Linked DNA regions of Homo sapiens: region 2 is linked to region 1. Evidence: promoter capture Hi-C in human tissues and cell types (Jung and others, 2019). All regions are on one chromosome and are shown on one strand. Each heading gives the region's core, a stretch centred on a gene start or on the middle of the fragment in contact. The rest is flanking DNA. Distances are from core to core; before and after follow the strand shown.

Region 1 (2,700 bases), core at 189-2,688:
ATTAGTAGTGACAACAGTCACCATTGCTAAGCCTGGCAGCTTCAGGCACGCTTAAAACTCCCATGAGAAGGCAGAGGCTCTGAGGCCCAGGAGGCTCTGAGGCCAAGGAGGCTGGCACAAGGTCACAAGGCTGGAAGGTGCCAGAGCTGGAGCTAGACCCCACCCCTTCTCTCCAACCCTATCCTAGCTGACTCCAGGTTCCATGCTTGGAACCATGGCACGCTGACGACATCGTGGCCTTTAAAGACAATTTTCTAATCACTTCTGTAGGCCTTGAATGTTCCCCAGTGGCCATTTAACAAGCAATTATTGAGCATCGGCTGTGTGAACCTGGTAGACAACCCACTGTAAAATGAGACGGAATAAATGAAGTGCTAGTTGGGGTTCAGGCAGGTTCTTTGGATAGACAGGAAGGCCTGCATATTTGGGTGGGAAGGGGACAGTAGGGGAGAATCCAGCAGGACTTCCTGCAGGAGGTGCTATCTGATGCACACCGTGAAGAACTCATAGGATGTGAGAGGCAGAGGGACACTTTATTTCCACTGGATGTGGTGGCCAGCATGGCCCCTGGGGCTTAACCTGAGTATGGTCGTCCCCTGGGGACCTGCCTTATTCTCCTTAGGGGAAGAAGACTTGAAGATCTGCAGTGTGCCAGACCCCTGCTAGGTCCGGGGGTAAGAGAGATCAAAGCCACCATCCCCCCCGCTCCGCCCCTCCAGAAAGCAGGACAGCCTTGCCCAGCAGTGGGGAAAGCTCTGCAGGAGCCCCGCCCCACCTCAGAGGATGCGGACTGGTCCTTGGCCCTCCTAAGCCTGAGTGTCCTCTGCAAAATGAGGACCCGCATTCCAACCTTGCAGGTGCGGGGTTAAATGAGATGATACACACTCACGCCCTACATCAGGGACGCTGCACGCACCTGGGCACAGAACACTAAGCACTCCGTAAACTCGGGGGCACCGGTAACATCAGTGGGCTCCAGGGAGATGACTGCCCCGGGAGAGACTCCCCCAGGAGCGCGGGCAGCTGGAGGGGGCGGGTCGGCAGGAACCAGGCAAGCTCCCCGGAGGAGGTGAGTGCTGAGTGACAGCAGGAGTTTGCCAGGGTGGAGGGAAAGGGGCAGAGATCCAGACTCCAATCTCAGAAGCTTCACTCCCCCCGGAGGCGGAGGTGACGCGCCACAGAAGCGCCTGCCACTCGGGGACTTTATTTCAGGTGGGGCTATTGAAAGTTCCCCCCTTTCACACCCGGTATGAAAACCCTCAAAAATCCAAAGGGGCACTTTCCCTGGATAAAAATAAAACTTGGAGGGGCCCGCAGGAATGGAATACTTTTTCTTCCTGTGTTTAAATTTCTACGGAAAATCTGACCGGCGCGGCCACCGCCCCTGCCATAGGCGGGCGGAGAGCGCTTATATCTTTAAGGCAAAGGCGGGCCGGCTGGCGTCCAAGTTCCTGACCAGGCGCGGGCCGGCCCGCGGGACCAGCAGCCGGGTGGCGGCGCGATCGGCCCCGAGAGGCTCAGGCGCCCCCCGCATCGAGCGCGCGGGCCGGGCGGGCCAGGGCGGCGGGCGGAGCGGGAGGCGGCCACGTCCCCGGCGGGCCTGGGCGCGGGGAGGCCCGGCCCCCTGCGAGCGCGCCGCGAACGCTGCGGTCTCCGCCCGCAGAGGCCGCCGGGGCCGTGGATGGGGAGGGCGCGCCGCCCGGCGGTCCCAGCGCACAGGCGGCCACGATGAGGGTCAACGAGAAGTACTCGACGCTCCCGGCCGAGGACCGCAGCGTCCACATCATCAACATCTGCGCCATCGAGGACATCGGCTACCTGCCGTCCGAGGGCACGGTGAGTGCGGGCGGCCGCGACCCGGGCGGGAGGGCCGCGCACCTGCGCCTTGGCGAGGGCGGGAACCGGGCGGCGGCAGGGCCTCCTGGGACCCCAGGGCGGGGGCCGCACCCTCCGCGCAGGGTTCGCGGCGCCCACCCGCGCACGTGCGTGCCGGGAAGGGCGCGCCGGCCCTGGCCAAGTGCGTGCGCCCCGCCTGCGCTCTGAGCGTTCCGAGCGCGGCGCCCACTCCGCCCAGCGCAGCGCCGGGCCCCCAGGCATGGCCCGGCCTCGGAGCTCTGCGGCCCCGAAGCCGCCTCACCCGGGGCTGCAGCTCGGAGCCCAACCAAGAGCTCACGGCTGGCGCCCTGGATGGGACCTTCCCTTCCTGGCTCGCGGCCAGGGGTACCTGTTGGGGCAGCCAGGGTGAGGGTGATGGTGGGGGTCTTGGGTGAAGGCCAAGTTGGTCGCCACTCCACGATGATGGTAACTGCCAGGCCCCACTGCTTCACTATCCTCTGGGGCCAGAGTCCCGAGTCCTCACTTGCCAGAAACGCATATTGTGCCCAGGGCACTGGGCCTGGTACCCTGGCATTGGCACCGAAACTCTCAAAGCCCAGGGTGTCAATCATTGGAGATTGCTTTCTACCCTCGCCCCTGTCTCCCCTGGGCGCCCAGGCCTGGTTCAGGTGGGGGCACTGGTTGGAAGCCAGTCATGTAAGTTGGGGACCCCATCCTGAGGTCCCCAATATCCCCACCACCCTCCCCAGGGCCAGACCCAGAGGTCTAGGTAACCCTATGTTTTAGAGAGGGGGGCAGAATTCTCCCAGGAAGGGTTTGGCTTGAAGGACAAAGTTTGCCGGAAGAGGATAGGACAGGGCTGGG
Region 2 (2,916 bases), core at 328-2,827, 130 kb before region 1:
GTCTGTGGGCCTTCCTTCTCTCTGGTCAGATGTCAGGACTCCCTGGAGCAAAATGGTAGCAGCAGTGGGAAGTCTTTCTCAGTGTCCTCTGCACCTTCCGTTGAATCCCCGCCTCCCTCCTTCCTCCAGGCCTCATCATCTCCTATAAGACAGGGCTGGCTCCACTGCCCCACCTGCTTTCACATTTCTGTCACTTGGTGGAACCATGTATCACGTTAAGCATTTGAAGTGATCTTACCAAGAATCTGCAGCACTGGCAAGACTAGACTCCTTTCTACCAGGGGCGATTTTAATCTTCCACCCGGTCATGCAAAAAGAACACCACGTTTCCATGCTGTCACCCCACCCTTTGCTGAGCTGGAAGAACCCAGAGGGCCCTCCCCTGGCTCCCACCTTTATTGAGGGACCTCAATAAAGAAAGATTCATTTTACAGTCAACAATAAGCACGAACAGTAGAGATGACAGGTGCCTAGCAAGTATTTGCTGGATGGGTAGAAGGAAGGAAGAAAGGAGAGAGGGAAGGAAGGCAAGGGAAGGGAAATGAGGGAGGGGAAGGGAAGGGAGAGAGGGAAGGAGGGAGGAAGGAAGGAAGGAAGGAAAAGAGGAAGGAAATGAGAGTAATGGATGGATGAGTGGGTGGATGGATATGTGGATGGATGATAGATGGCTGGCTGGATGGATTAATGGATAGCTATGTGAGTGGATGGATGAACAGATGATGAATGGATAGATGGGTGGATGGGTTGATGTGTGAATGAATGATGGATAAATGGATGGGTGGATATGTGGGTAACTGGATGGATGGATGGATGGGTGGGTGGATGGATGGATGGATGGATGGATGGATGGATAGATATGTGGGTAGATGGGTAGGTGAAAGGCTGGGTAGGTGAGTGAGTGAGTTATATGTTTCAGGGATGCTCCAAATCAGGGAAACCCAACATCATAGAAAGGTGCTTCACAGTGGACTAAAGACTAATAAAAGATACCTTCCAACAGCAAGATTGCTTATGGTTTTAATTTTCTTCTTTGTGCTCCTCTGTATGAAACAAAATGGGGAAACTCTACTTACCAGAATGCCTGCCGGGGAGTGCAGATGTAATTAGAAGGCATACTATGGTAAGCCACGGGGGCAGAGGTGGGAGGGACATGACCCCTCCAAGCTGAGGCTTAAGCTTTAACATGGTGGTACCCCTGCTCTGTTAATAGGGAGGCCTCTCAAGGAAGCAGGCTTATCTTTGCTGAAGGAGATTTGATATCATGTGGGGGAGCTGAGGACTTAGAGAAGAGGCACTTGGCAGGAGGTGGGCAGAGAAGGTGGAGCTCTGATGGCCACAAGAGGGAAACAAGAGTAAGGACTCTACCTGTGGTAGAGAAAAGATGTGTTTATGGGAATGTTTGAGGCCATTTGCCATGGAGTGCTATGTGCTCGTCTGTCTTTTTAGCTTGATGTCTTGTTGCTGAGGGGCTTAGCAACAGCAGGCATTTATTACTTACATTTCTGGAAGCTGGAAGTCCAGCACCAAGGTTCTGGCAGACACAGTGTCTGGTGAGGGCTCACTTACTCCATTCCTAGTTTGCAGATAGCCGTTGATATGGATTGGCTGTGTCCCCACCCAAATCTCATCTTGGAATTTTACTCCCATAATTCCCACGTGTTGTGGGAGGGAGTCGCTGGGGGATAATTGAATCATGGGGCAGTTTCCCCCATACTGTTCTCGTGGTAGTGAACATAAGTCTCATGAGATCTGAGGGTTTTATCAGGGGTTTTGGCTTTGGCTGAAGGGGATCTGACATCGTGTGGGGGAGCTTAGGACTTAGAGAAGAGGCACTTGGCAGGAGGCGGGCAGAGAAGGTGGAGCTCTGATGGCCACAAAGAGGGAAGCAAACAAAAACAGACACCTGTGGTAGAGAAAAGACGCGTTTATGGGGGTGTTTGAGGCCATTTGCCTTGGAGTGGCAAATTCTCTGTTTGTCTGCTGCCATCCGTGTAAGACAGGACTTGGTCCTCCTTGCCTTCCGCCAAGATTGTGAGGCTTCCCCAGCCATATGGAACTTAAGTCCAATTAAACCTCTTTCTTTTGTAAATTGCCCAGTCTTGGGTATGTCTTTATAGGCAGCATGACTAATACAGCTGTTTTCTCACTGTGTGCCCACACGGTGGGGAGAGAAACAGAGACAGAGACACAGAGACACAGGGACATACAGAGACACAGAGACACACACAGAGAGAGACACAGAGACACACAGACACACAGAGAGACACAGAGACAGAGACACACAGGGACACACAGAGAGACACAGAGACAGAGACAGAGAGACAGAGACACACAGAGACGGAGACACACAGAGAAAGCATTTCTTTGCCTCTCTTCTGGTAAGGACTCTAATCCCATCATGAGGACCACAAGCTCATGACCTCATCACCTCCCAAAGGCCCCACCTCCCAAACCCATCTCATTGAAGATTAGGGTTTCCACATATGAATGTTGGGGGTACACGAACATTCAGTCCATAGCAACTCTTCCCCTCTGTTCCTTTATTAATTATTAATTATTAATTATGAGTTATTATTAATTATCATAGTTAATTATTAGTTATTAATAATCATAATATTAATTATCTATTAATTATAATATAATTAGTTATTATTAATTATATTTTTAAATATATAATTAATTATATTATATTTTATATACAATATATTTTAATATATTTTTAATATATTTTAATATATAATTAATTATAATAATTAGTTATTATTAACTATAATAATTAATAATACAAGTATTAATTATAATAATTAATAATACAAGTATTTATTATGAATTATGAATTGAAAATTACTAATACAACCTAAATATAAAACCTCCAAGTTCAGAGTTTGCCTGGATTTCAGTGGAAGCCGCGCCCCC

The links. The method cuts DNA at HindIII sites, captures the fragments that hold promoters and counts their contacts. A contact is called where the count stands out against the background at its distance.
Region 2: a contact is called between a fragment that was not itself captured here and the fragment with the promoter of ANO1 in region 1, in 3 of the 25 tissues and cell types used here (H1 embryonic stem cells, aorta and liver).

Annotation. Positions count from the first base shown.
Region 1 is chr11:70,076,879-70,079,578 of GRCh38, forward strand. It overlaps ANO1 (anoctamin 1), which reads left to right and starts at 1,439. Exons shown (of 26, transcript NM_018043.7): 1 at 1,439-1,836. The coding sequence starts at 1,729. The HindIII fragment of the contact is 18,532 bases long and covers 1-2,700 here.
Region 2 is chr11:69,944,713-69,947,628 of GRCh38, forward strand. No RefSeq gene overlaps it. Among named protein-coding and RNA genes, the nearest start is that of LINC02753, 120 kb to the right of the region's middle. The HindIII fragment of the contact is 8,856 bases long and covers 1-2,916 here.